2 separate regions of the Homo sapiens genome follow, and region 1 is linked to region 2. The links are contacts of gene promoters, found by promoter capture Hi-C in blood cells and fetal thymus (Javierre and others, 2016). All regions are on one chromosome and are shown on one strand. The core of a region is centred on a gene start or on the middle of the fragment in contact, and the rest is flanking DNA. Distances in the headings are between cores, read along the strand shown.

Region 1 (6,218 bases), core at 1,228-3,727, 1.3 Mb after region 2:
TGAAGAGCATTTTTGAGTTGTTCTACTTTCCCACATCGACTGGCCCCAAATCTGCTTCCATCGCATTCTTTCCCACAGTTTTCTTCATTGAGAGCTGATTTCATAAACTCTCTTTCTACTTGGCTTTCCACCAGTTTCCCCTGTCGTACTCTGTCCCCACCAATGTGGTCATGGGCTAGAAAATCAATAAAACTCTTAATCACAAACAATGTGCAGCAGCAACAGCAGCAGCAGAAGTAGTGTGGCTCAGCTCCTAACTTGGCAGATCCCAGTGAGACAGAACAAGCTCTACCAGGGAGGAACGGGACCGCACAGGACATCCAACATCTAGGCTGGGTGAGACTTGCTTTCATGTTCACACTGAGAGTGACTTTTTTTTCCCTGTCTTTGGTCTTGAATCAGGAGGAGGGGTGACTTTTCTAAGCTGCTCTGGCTTAGTTTCCATTGCCTCCAAGGCTATATTCCTTCTCTTCATACCCAGCTTGGGAAACATAATTCCCTCTTCCATTGCAGCAAGCAGTCAAAATACTGAGTTAATTTTATTCATTCTACCACCCCTGTCTTTCCCTGGAGAAGGCTGGTGCTTACATACAAGACTGATATAACTTTTGCAATAAATATATTTTTACAAGCTTCTTGTATTTTATGCACCTTCCTACATTTAGGGGAAACAATTCTGTCAATTCGCTGCTATGCATGCTAAGCGAATTGTGAAACAAGTAGTGAATGTGGAACTTATGTGGGATTCACTACTGTTGGCTGTTACTGACTCCTCATCCTGCCCGCTGGCAGGGAGTGGAGGGGCCCAAGCAGTCTTCTGGGTCTCCATGTATTTGGGAGGGAGGAGCCTCTGAGACCTCAGCGGTAGGAAGTCGCATCAGAGCCTCTCCAGAAGCCCTGGTGGCTTTATGGTTGCTGGCCTGGCTCTGGTTTCCATCACTTGCTTACACCGCCAGCAGGATGACAAGGATAAAATTAGTGAAAGACCTTTTAAATAATCATCAAGTCTCGTTTTGGCACTGCTCACTCCTTCACAAGATTTTTTCCCACCAAATTAGCCAGTTTGATTGAGTTTTTGCTTTGTCTGTTTTGGTTCCACCAAGAACTAGCCAAGCAACTGGGCAATTCAGTTCTGCGGGGGCCGGGGGGGGGGCCTTCGTTTTCCCATCTGTAAATGAAGAGTTGGGCTACATAAATTCGAAGCTCAAACCTTCTCTGTCCACCTTTTCTGGAGAAAAGGTAAATAGAGCCTGAGAAGCCCCAGGAAAAGGCACATAAAAAGGAAATGGGAAGAAGCCAGGGCAACTCCAACAAACTGAATACTCAAGTCCTCTCACGTTAATGGCTCTATCTGGGCAGGCAGGTGAGGGGAGAACCTTTATCTTGACTCTAGGGAGGGAAGCATGGAAGTTTTAGGAGAACCAAGGTTCCTGGGTTCTGAATCACTGAGTCACTAATCAAGTGGCTAACTGTGTTAGTGACAACTGCAGAAGCTGGAGGGAGGGGCTGGGAGAGGAGCAGCGAGGAGGAGACGGGTGGGGGAGGAGATGGGGATGAAAGGGAAGCGTTTGCAGCTTGTGGAGCACTGGGAAGAGCAGGGACATCAAGGGCACCAAATAAAGGTCCAGGGAGCAAAGAAAGAAATGGAGAAAATTCATTCTGCTGGAAATAGACATGAGTGCAGTCAGGAAGAAGACTTACAGATTCAGGGTGACCTGATTTGATTACAGCAACAGGAAGTGCAAGAGAGAGAGGGCAGAATAACCTGACCTAAGGAAGTGAATTAAATAATAGAGAAGACACCACAGTTGCCATGGTATTAAAATACCTCATGCCACATTAAGCTTCCTCTTTCTCTTTTGCTTGATTCTTGTTTTTGCAACATGTTAATGTTGCAATGACATGTTAATGTCATTGCAGGGTATCCAGTAAACTAAATTTAGACTTTCTGGGGCGGGGAGGGGAGGGAAGATGCAGCCCAGATCTCCCTGTTTGGGTCGACTCTGGGCCAATATTGTTCCTTCACAGAGTTCTTGGGGTTTTTTGCATTATGGGATATGAAAACTCTTATGTCAGGCTTGGGCCTAGTGAAGCTGCTGAGTGAAATGATTGAAAAAAAAAAAATGAGGCCAGGCACGGTGGGTCACGCCTGTAATTCCAGCGCTTTGGGAGACAGAGGCAGGTGGATCACCTGAGGTCAGGAGTTCATGACCAGCCTGGCCAACATGGTGAAACCCTGTCTCTACTAAAAATACAAAAATTACAAAAATACAAAAACTGGTGGTGCATGCCTGTAGTCCCAGCTACTTGGGAGGCTGAGGAAGGAGAATCACTTGAACCTGGGAGGCGGAGGCTGCAATGAGCCGAGATGGCATCACTGCACTGCACTCCAGCCTGGGCCACGGAGTGAGACTCCATCTCAAAAAAACAAACAACAACAAAAAAAACCCTCACACACACACACACACACACAAAGAAAAATTGGAAATAGTTTTCAAAGGGGCATCTGTTTTAGAAATTACTTTAGAAAAACAATAGGATTGCAGAAACTTGAAAAATAAAGACAAACCGCCACCAAAACCAAATGTGTTTTCATAGATATTATTTTCTCTAATTGTTTTTGAAAAATTACTTTACTAGGCTAAAATTAAGATTATTGAGTCCTGCAATTGGTCCTCTGCAAAAGTAGACATTGCAGAGGGCAGGTACATGGTATACTCTTTTGACACTACAATATCCAGGATGGGCAGAGGAGTATTTCCAGCTGACCTATTTACCACAAATGTCATAACATTCATCAAGGGTCAGCTCTTGACCTTCCTCAAGTGGACTCACATTAACTAGACCCCGAGAGACTGAGATGTATGCCTGAATTATGATGGACAGATCAGAATACTCACACTGTCAGGGCAAAAGATCTCTCTATATAAATAAATGCACTTGAGAAGACAAATTCCATCCAAAAGTTTGCTTAGTTATCTGGAGTAGAATGAAGGACATTAGTTGTGTGGTCCACAAGACAAATACTCTGATACAGTGTTCTGAAAGAATGAGGCTGCCCACCCATCCCACTCACCTCTGCTTAGATGGGCCCTATGGCTTCTGAGGCTTCAAGCTTCTTTCTCCGTGCTCTAGTTTCTCCAAACCTGATTCTCCACACAGCGTCCTATACAGCCCATTAGGCAGATTTACACTTTCTAAGTCATAATGACATTCTCTATCTTCCTGGCATTACAGCCAAGTCACTTTAATGGGAATTTGAGGTAATCCTCAAACTTCTCAGTCACAAATTGAGTCACTCTCTTGGTTTATGCCCACTGAATTCTAGTCAAAACCATTGAGTGTGCAGATTTTGGTAGTCAAACTTTCTGAGAGCAACCTGGTTCTCAAGTTCTTGGGAAAGCACCTCATTTCTGCTTCACAAGCCATCAACAGTGGGCCAACCTTCTTAGGCTACCATGATTTCTGAGAAAGAGACCAGAGACATATTAAGACCCACGTGGCCTGTCCTGTGATACAGTCATCCAAGTTTTCCTGGGCACTCAGCTCAAAGATATTTCTATTCTGTGCAGGAGTGGAGAGGTTGGCTCTTTGCTATGATAGCTTAGGCAACGGAACGCCACCTTGAGGATGCAGATTCCATCTACTATAACATAGATGGAGGGCAAAGTGTCCTCTTCATTTTCCAAATGGGACTGTCTGGCTTTGAATCCAATATCCAGAAATGAAAATACCCATGTGGTCCTCTTCACTCAGTCACAAACAAAGACAGGTTGATTAGAGTGTTTCTGGGACCTGGCACTGAAATGACAACCCTCGATCTACAGGCAGCCCTCACCCGGAGGTGCTTGATGCTAAGCCAGCCCTTCCTGTATGTATTTGCTGGAGACCTGTCTTGCAGCCTCTTTGGATCTGGCGTGTCCTTTCAGGTCATTTAAGGTCTTATTGATCCTCCTTGCTGAGTCCATAGATCAATTCTTGGGAAAAGATGCTGTGGCCAACTTTTGGAATGTCTTTCAGACAAATTTAAAGAGCCCTGCTCAAATGCTCCTGTGCTCAAGATAGAGGACCAAAAAGAAAGCAGCCCTGTGGTAGGCCTTGTACTGTCTCCTTGGAGAAAAATGCCAGTTGAGAGTAGGTCTTCTGAAGTTATAAGCATCACTTCCCAACCTGGCATCTGGGGAATGTCTTAAGTCTGAGATAGTGTGAGTTCTTCAGCAGAGCAGGGAGCCTGGTTATTACTCAGCTGTAAAGTCTTGGCACCTCGACCTCACCTGTGTCCCCTGTTCTGTGCTCTCCCCCAAGATGGTGTGGCAAAGGTTGTGATTTGAACCAGGTCAGGTTCATTCTCAGTTGTAGACAAGATAAGAGAGAGGGGCAAGTCAGTGATCTCTCCCTTCTCGCCAATCCTATAGAATTTGGAGTATCTGCAACTAACTTTCCTTAATATTTCAAAATAATCCTTCTGAAAATGTGCATTGAGAATTGTGGAATTGGTTATATCCAAGCAGAGTCATCTTGTTTATAGGCTCATTTTCATCTAAGGGGCTATTTTTATTGCTGACATATACCTTTCAAGTATTTGGAAAGGTTTATCGTGAATGGAATGTATCCTGAATGGAATGTAATTTGGCATCTCTGAGCTCATTTGCACCACACAATAATTCATCCCCAAGACCAGAGATGTTTAAGGACTCTCCCAGGATCCCACAACTGAAATGTGGCCAAATGAGGCTCAAATCAAGGCCCATTGGGTCTTCAGCCATACTTCACACTTCATGCAGAGTGACAAGACTCCTCAGAGGGTGGGCATCGGAGGGCAGGGGTGAAGCAACAAGAGATGGCATTTAGAGACAGTCTGCTGTTTCCCAGGAGACTGAGTCACATCATTTCATTTCATCCTGAAAATGACCTTACAGAATATGATCTCCATTTATAGATGAGGAAACCCGAGACTGTGAGTTCAAATAACTTGTCTGGAGTCACATAAGTAGTGAGAGTGGGATTGGAACCACAGCTGTGCAAACCATGAAAAGGCACAGATAGAGGAAATGGAAGTAACAGGACAGTTTTGGAGAAATAATTCTAGATTATTGAGTAAAGGAAAAGTTCTTAAAGAAGCTCTACATCAGTTTTATGGTGCCATACAAGATGGACTTATGGAGTGTGTTAATCTGTTCTCACATTGCTGTAAAGAAATACCTGAGACCAGGTAATTTAGAAAGAAAAGAGATTTAATTGGATCATGGCTCTGCAGGCTACACAGTAAGAATGATGGCATCTGCTCAGCTTCTGGGGAGGCCTCAGCAAACTTACAATCATGGCAGAAGGTGAAGGGGGAGCAGGCAGTCACATGGACAGAGCAGGAGCAAGAGAGAGAGGCAGAAGGTGCTACACACTTAAACGACCACATCTCTTGAAAACTCACTCACTATCATGAGGACAGCACCAGAATGATGGTGCTAAACCATTCATGAGAAATCCACCCCCATGATCCAACCACCTCCCACCAGGCCCCACCTCCAATATGGGGGATTACATTTCAACATGAGATTTGGGAGGGGACAACATCCAAACTGCATCACAGGGGAAATGACAAAATCACAAAAGCGTATACATGGCTGGCCTCTAGTGGCAGAGGAGAGCTTTGGTCTTGTCTCTGGGGGTATGCTTTTGTGAAGGTGTCCCAAGTGACCCCCATCCCTTATTTGAGATGATATACTTCTTGGGTTCAAGTTGTTCAGTTTGTTTTTCTGGTTCTGGTGGCTGAGTGGAGGGCAGAGATTCTCTCTGCAGCAGATGTGCCATCCTTTACAGTGCCTAGCATGCTGCTGGACGTACAGGTGTCCAGGAGGTTTGGCAAGCATATTGCCAGGAAAAACTTCTACCATTGAGGGCCCAGTGCAAACAAGCTCACTATGAGCAGGCTGGCTGGCCATGGATAAGGAGGACCATCTTAGGAGCAAGTTACAGCTGACAGATGACTTTTGAGCTGTGGAAATGGAAGACAGAAAAATGCTTTTTGAAGAACTTCATTAATTTTTATTTACTTATTTATTTTTGAGATGGAGTTTGCTTGTTGCCCGGGCTGGAGTGCAATGGCACGGTCTCAGCTCAGTGCAACGTCCACCTCCTGGGTTCAAGCGATTCTCCTGCCTCAGCCTCCCAAGTAGCTGGGATTACAGGTGCCCAATACCATGCCTGGCTATTTTTTTTTG
Region 2 (5,884 bases), core at 1,267-3,766:
ATAGTGGAAGCTGCATGCACATAAGTACGCAAAGTCCAGTAAACTGGTTGTGGTTTTTCTGATTAGATATTGATTTATTCTGAATATATAAAGTGCTGTAGGAAGATTTAAAGGCTGAGGGTGCACAAAATCATTTAAGATGATCAACAATTAGGTTTCTCTTTTTCTATAAGTGCATATACCAGAGCTATTTTAATATTAATAGTGGCTAAGGGTACTATTAGAGTTTTTCATAATGATATTACTCCAAATTATTTTATAAAGATGGGAAGTAATACTGGGAAATAATGATACACAATTGTTACTGAATATTTAATAAAGCACAAGTTAGTTATAAATAATACCACAAACTCTCTCTAAAAACCCCAAATAATTCCTCTATAAATCTTTCTATACTACTTGTTTTAACAAGTTCTATTTAAAATAACTTCTTCCTAAAAATGGAATTTGAGGACCGGGCGCGGTGGCTCATATCTGTAATCCCAGCACTTTGGGAGACTGAGGTGGGTGGATCACGAGGTCAGGAGATCGAGACCATCCTGGCTAACATGGTGAAACCCCATCTCTACTAAAAAATACGAAAAATAAGCCCAACGTGGTGGCACACACCTGTAGTCCCAGCTACTCGGGAGGCTTAGGCAGGAGAATTGCTTGAACTTGGGAGGCGGAGGTTGCAGTGAGCCGAGATCACACCACTGCACTCCAGCCTGGGCAAAGAGCGAGTCTCTGTCTCAAAAAAAAAAAAAAAATGGAATTTGAGTTCTCTAGATGAGTGTCAAACCAATGATTTAAAACATCACAAGGCCTGAGTAGAAAGAATGAATTGATTGGTACACATGGGAACAGGAGTTAGTACTTGTTAATTAGTCCTAGAGTTAGCGTTAGTACTTGTTAGTTAGTGTTAGTCCCAGAGTTAAGACAAAGAGCAACTTTAAAGTACAGAATCTTTCCCAAGAAGAGTAAATAAATCCTCATAGCATAAATCAAATTTAATGTTTGACAGTTCACCAGTTTTTATCATCTTTACAACAAACTCAGGTAGCTCTCTAGTAATTTGCCTACTCCATAAGGGGGCATTTATTTACCTCTTTACTATTAATTCTCAGATCAATAGAAGAGACATAAACTTTGAAGAAAAATTCATAATTATACTTCTGCCAGTTCCCTTCAGATTAATTTAGTGAACAGGTGGACAAATTCTCTGTGTCCCTGGAGAACAAGTGAAATATAATGAAAAAAACAGATCTGGGCAAGTACAGAAAACTAACGCCCAACTGAAGTTTTAAAACTTATATTGCAAAAGTGTATGGGTATTGAGAAGAGATGAAAGGTTGAAAAGTAATTTGAAATATGCTCAGGCCATTGCAATATACCCCATTATGATAGGGATTGAGTTATGCGCCATCATACATCTCTCCCATGTCAAGGACTTTTGAAAGGATATTAAGAGGTGACAAGCACATGAACTTAAAAAATATTTTTATAAAGACTGCCACCCATTTGTTTGGCTAATAAAAAGTCAGTAAGACTTCTGCTGAACACTCCGTTCTATGTCTAAATAGCCCATGCCAGGTTCCACTTCACAGGTGTCTCATTCAGCATGCCAGCTGCCAGAATGCCCAAGCTAAGTGTACAACTGCCCGGCACAGAAAGTGTGCATGTTTTTTACTGGGTCATGAAAGTTAGCCTTTGCTCTCATCACCACAGAGAAAAGTCAGAAGATAGCCTGTCTTAGTCAGGAAAAGAAAGTACAGCCTGTAGGAAGCAATTTGAGGGTGTTCCAGATCACACCAACAGCGGATGCTGCATCTGGGTAGTTCACGTACCCGAACAAAAATTTTAAAAATTTGGTGTGGCCTTTGCCATCCATTCACTCCTCAAAAACTACCATTTGCTTTCCCAGAAAGCAAGCTTTCCAGCCCCACAGCCACGCCCCCACGAGAGAAAAAGTCGCACTCACCAAATAGTGACAGGACCCCACACACCGTCCAGATGGTCAGAGACATGCCCACGCTGCCCGTGTTCTGGAGCACGCCCTTAGGAGAGATGAAGATTCCTGCTCCAATGATGGTGCCAATGATAATGGAGACTCCCCTCAGTAAAGTGACTTTCCTCTTCAGCTGCACTTTCTCCTGCCCAGGTGGCTCCTTGTTGCCCAGGGAAGGCAGCCTCCCGTTAACATTTCCCTGCAGGTAACCTCCTTTGGAGATGGTGGACACAACAGGCTTTCTGACCATAGTAGGGACACACGGGGGAAAAATAAAACAGAGGGAAAGAAAACAAAACTTTCAACTTTGGTGTCTCTTGGTGTTACTGATCGATGTCTTCCTCTGCTTTCAGACTGTCTCTCTCAGCGCTATAGTGTTCACAGGTGAAAACTCAAAGGTGTGCTTTTTCCTTCACAGCGATCTAATTACTACTCAGAAACACCTGTGTATGCATCGTGCTCTCAATTCTCCACCTCCTCGTTCCACCACTGCTGCTGCTGCTGCTGCTGCCGCCCTATCATTACAAACCAGCTCAGCTTCCTCATGGGCTTGTATTTAAGCGCCTGCCTGTCACACCAACTTACTACAGCTAAATGATGATGCAAATTCTCCAGGTTTGCATCAGCCACATGAGAAGCCTCCAGCATTACTCAGCTCTTTTTTTTAAAAAAAGAAAAAAACAGGAGGAGCTTGTTGCTCAACTGACCTAAGCTTTTTAGAGAACAAAGCACACACTTTAAAGAGATTTTAGCCAATCCAGAAGTAGTAAATTCGGAACAGACCTTCCCAGAGATTTAAAGCAACTCGTAGTGAGCAACAAAAGCTGTTCAAACAAAATGAAACAGGAAATAGTTACTTCATTTTAAGGAGTTTCTTTTTCTTTAATGCGTGTATAAAAACATTTTACATGCGACTGTTTTGTGAGTAGAATGTATCCTAAAGCTACATTGTTTATAACAACACAGTTTGAATTTCATAATTTGTGTAATGCTTTTTATTTTTTTATTTTGAGTTTTTTATAAGGCAATACAGTCAAATCCAATATTTACAAAATTAAAGATTCTACACTTTATACTTCTGTCACATACACACAACTATAAGCCTTCCTCAACATTAAAAGATAAAATTATTTCTTACTACTCATAATAAACCAGTATTTTAAATCACCATCCGAGTGTGACTAATACAAAATTCACCATGACTCCAGAAAATAGTCATTTTCTGATTCTCATTAGCACTAGGTGATTTTTTTGAACTATGTAAAAGATACATATCCTTCATTGTCATGTTGTTCCTTTGAATTACCAAAAAAAATTTCTAAGTTCAAAATTACACAATTACAATTACATAAAAATATGTATATAGCAAAAGCCTGTAAAGGAAAACAGAATGGTAGTTATAGAAAGTAATGATATTATGTATGACTTTTTTCCACATTATATAAACTATTGTTATTATTATAAATTTAAAATGCATTAAAAATGTAAGCTAAATTAAAATATTTACTTTGCAATAGTCAAAAAGGCAAAACATTTTTAAACCCTTCTAACTTTCTCAACCAAGTGTCAAGAAAAAACAAATATGAAAAGAAAAGAAATCCTAGATATCATTTTTGGCTATAGTTACATGTGGTTTTGGATTCAGTGAGAAGAATTGAATGTTATCATTACCCTGAAGCTACCTTTATACGCACCATTAAATAAGCTTCTGAACCTTTGAACAAAAACCACAAACAAAAAGCCTGTGTGCGAGAGGTTGGCAGGGAAAGAAGGGAGTCAAGTATGGTGAGGATGATCAAAGAAAGAAATGAGAAATCGCCATTAGGAAAGTAGCATGGAAAAGGTCAGAACCATTTTCTGTTATGTTGACACCTGAGAAAATGACACCACCTCAATGCTTTGCCATCCAAATAATTGAGGCTACATTTTCTCCTTTTTAAATTATCTATCTAAATTCTATATAATTGGTTTCAGCTACACCAAGTTAAAGTTTTTATAAAACCAAAATAAATACTTTTTCTCAGTTGTTAATGTCTTTCAAAAAACAAAAATGGATCATTTTCCTCATGCAATCCTGCTAAAACTCCCAAAGAAGGAAGCTAAATAGAGATTCTTTTCTTTCCAATTCTCTTCCTCCTCCTACATCTCCTTTCACTCACACAATTTTCCTGATTAATGGACCTAAGGAGCAGCTCTTCTTTCCCAGTAAGAGAAACATATTAGCTCTGAAGAAATATGAGGTAAAAGTAGGACACTAGGAATCTCAGGGAACAGCAACTTTCTCTAATTAACACAGTGTCACACTTTAATTTTAAATTTTGTTATAAATAACTGAACTCATAAGTTGAGCCAAAGACCCCACTCAGATAGGAAACTGAATGAATTATAAAGGACGATTATTCTTTCAATATTAAATAACATTTTCCTCCTCACAGTATTTTTTTTTTAATTATGAAGAAAAATGGCTGATGTTAGACTAAAAACCAAAAGGATTGTACTTTCATGTAAGATAGAGGCCACCACTCAGAATGTTTGCAAAGCTGCACATTGCTGCTAAGGGCACCAGTGTACCTCTTCTAAGCACCCCAAAATCTGTAGAAAATGCAGTTTATAAAGAAAATGTTGAATTGCCTTGAACTCTTAAAATTGCCAGTTCTAAGCTTGTAAACTAAGAGTTTGGATGGTCCTCAAATACTTGTGTATCATAAAAATGTGTTCAAAGCAAATGAATACATATTTTTCATCCTGTATTAGGCCTTATTTTAAGTATAGCTGTCAAATTATGAGACTATCCTAGTGCTATTCGCAAATACTTATTTACTGCTTATTGTGCACAAGAAATAGTCCTAGCTTCCTCACAGCATCTCGTAATAGAAATAGAAATAATGTATACTGGTAGCTACCGTTTTCTAGTAACAATTTCTGTCCCATGGTTATAAATACAGGCATATCATCTAGGCCTGGCCAAAAATAATCCAGTGCTCTGGCTGCAGAGTATTGGAATATTACCTGAGCTGGGATATTTCTAAACAGAATTAGAATCAGCTTTTTTCATCTGTTGTTGGAGATTGTAAAGATGTGATCTGACAACAACTGGTGGCCATGTTCCCTGGCGTGTTGCAAATATCCTCACAGAATAACAGAGAATGTGCAGAAATTAGAGATATTCAGAAAGTCCTAGTACTATCATGCCCTATGTTAGTTCCTAAGGGACCCAGATTGGCTCGGGATCCTGAAGACCTTCATTTGCTTCTGTAAGCTACCTAGTTTCCTTGCTAGGTATGCTACCTAATAACACACACAAAAGTCAATTGCACGTGGATCATGGAGCTAAATTTGAATGGTGCATCATGAACGCTTCTAGAAATGGGTCACCTGATATGATAATAATTAGTTACATGTGGTTATCAGCCCTTGAAATATGACTAGAACTTGAAGTCTTAAAGAAAAATAACAAAAAAGTTATTAACAATTTGTATTATTCATACTAGTTTTACCTATTTTATTTATTATTATGGCTACTAAAAATTAAAATCATATCCGTGGTTCAAAGTTGTGGCTTCCATTATAATTCTACTGGACGGTGCTGATCTAGAGGAAAATGCAGAATATATTTCTAAACTTTGTGTAAGCAGGGATTTCTTAAAAGGGACACACAAAGCCCTAATACAAAAAAGAGAAAAATACAGTGTAATACATTAAAATTAAGATTTTGAGTTTATTGAAATATATTATTTGATTATAAAAGTGAATCTTAAAATGGGACAAAATATTTGCAATTTGCAAAGGTCTCATATCCAGAATAAATAATAAGTTTGTATAAATAGGAAAATGACAGACAACCCAATAAAAAATGGCCAAGAAATTTGAACAGATGCTCAATAAAATAGTCAATTC

The links. Contacts are between HindIII fragments. The CHiCAGO score rates a contact against its expected background, and 5 or more counts as called.
Region 1: a contact is called between a fragment that was not itself captured here and the fragment with the promoter of SLC7A11 in region 2, in 1 of 17 cell types (monocytes). The highest score is 7.4, in monocytes.

Annotation. Positions count from the first base shown.
Region 1 is chr4:139,559,082-139,565,299 of GRCh38, forward strand. No RefSeq gene overlaps it. Among named protein-coding and RNA genes, the nearest start is that of SETD7, 6.0 kb to the left of the region's middle. The HindIII fragment of the contact is 1,271 bases long and covers 1,843-3,113 here.
Region 2 is chr4:138,239,833-138,245,716 of GRCh38, forward strand. It overlaps SLC7A11 (solute carrier family 7 member 11), which reads right to left and starts at 2,517. Exons shown (of 12, transcript NM_014331.4): 1 at 1,961-2,517. The coding sequence starts at 2,237. RefSeq lists enhancers at 1,863-3,062, 2,532-2,771. The HindIII fragment of the contact is 788 bases long and covers 1,910-2,697 here.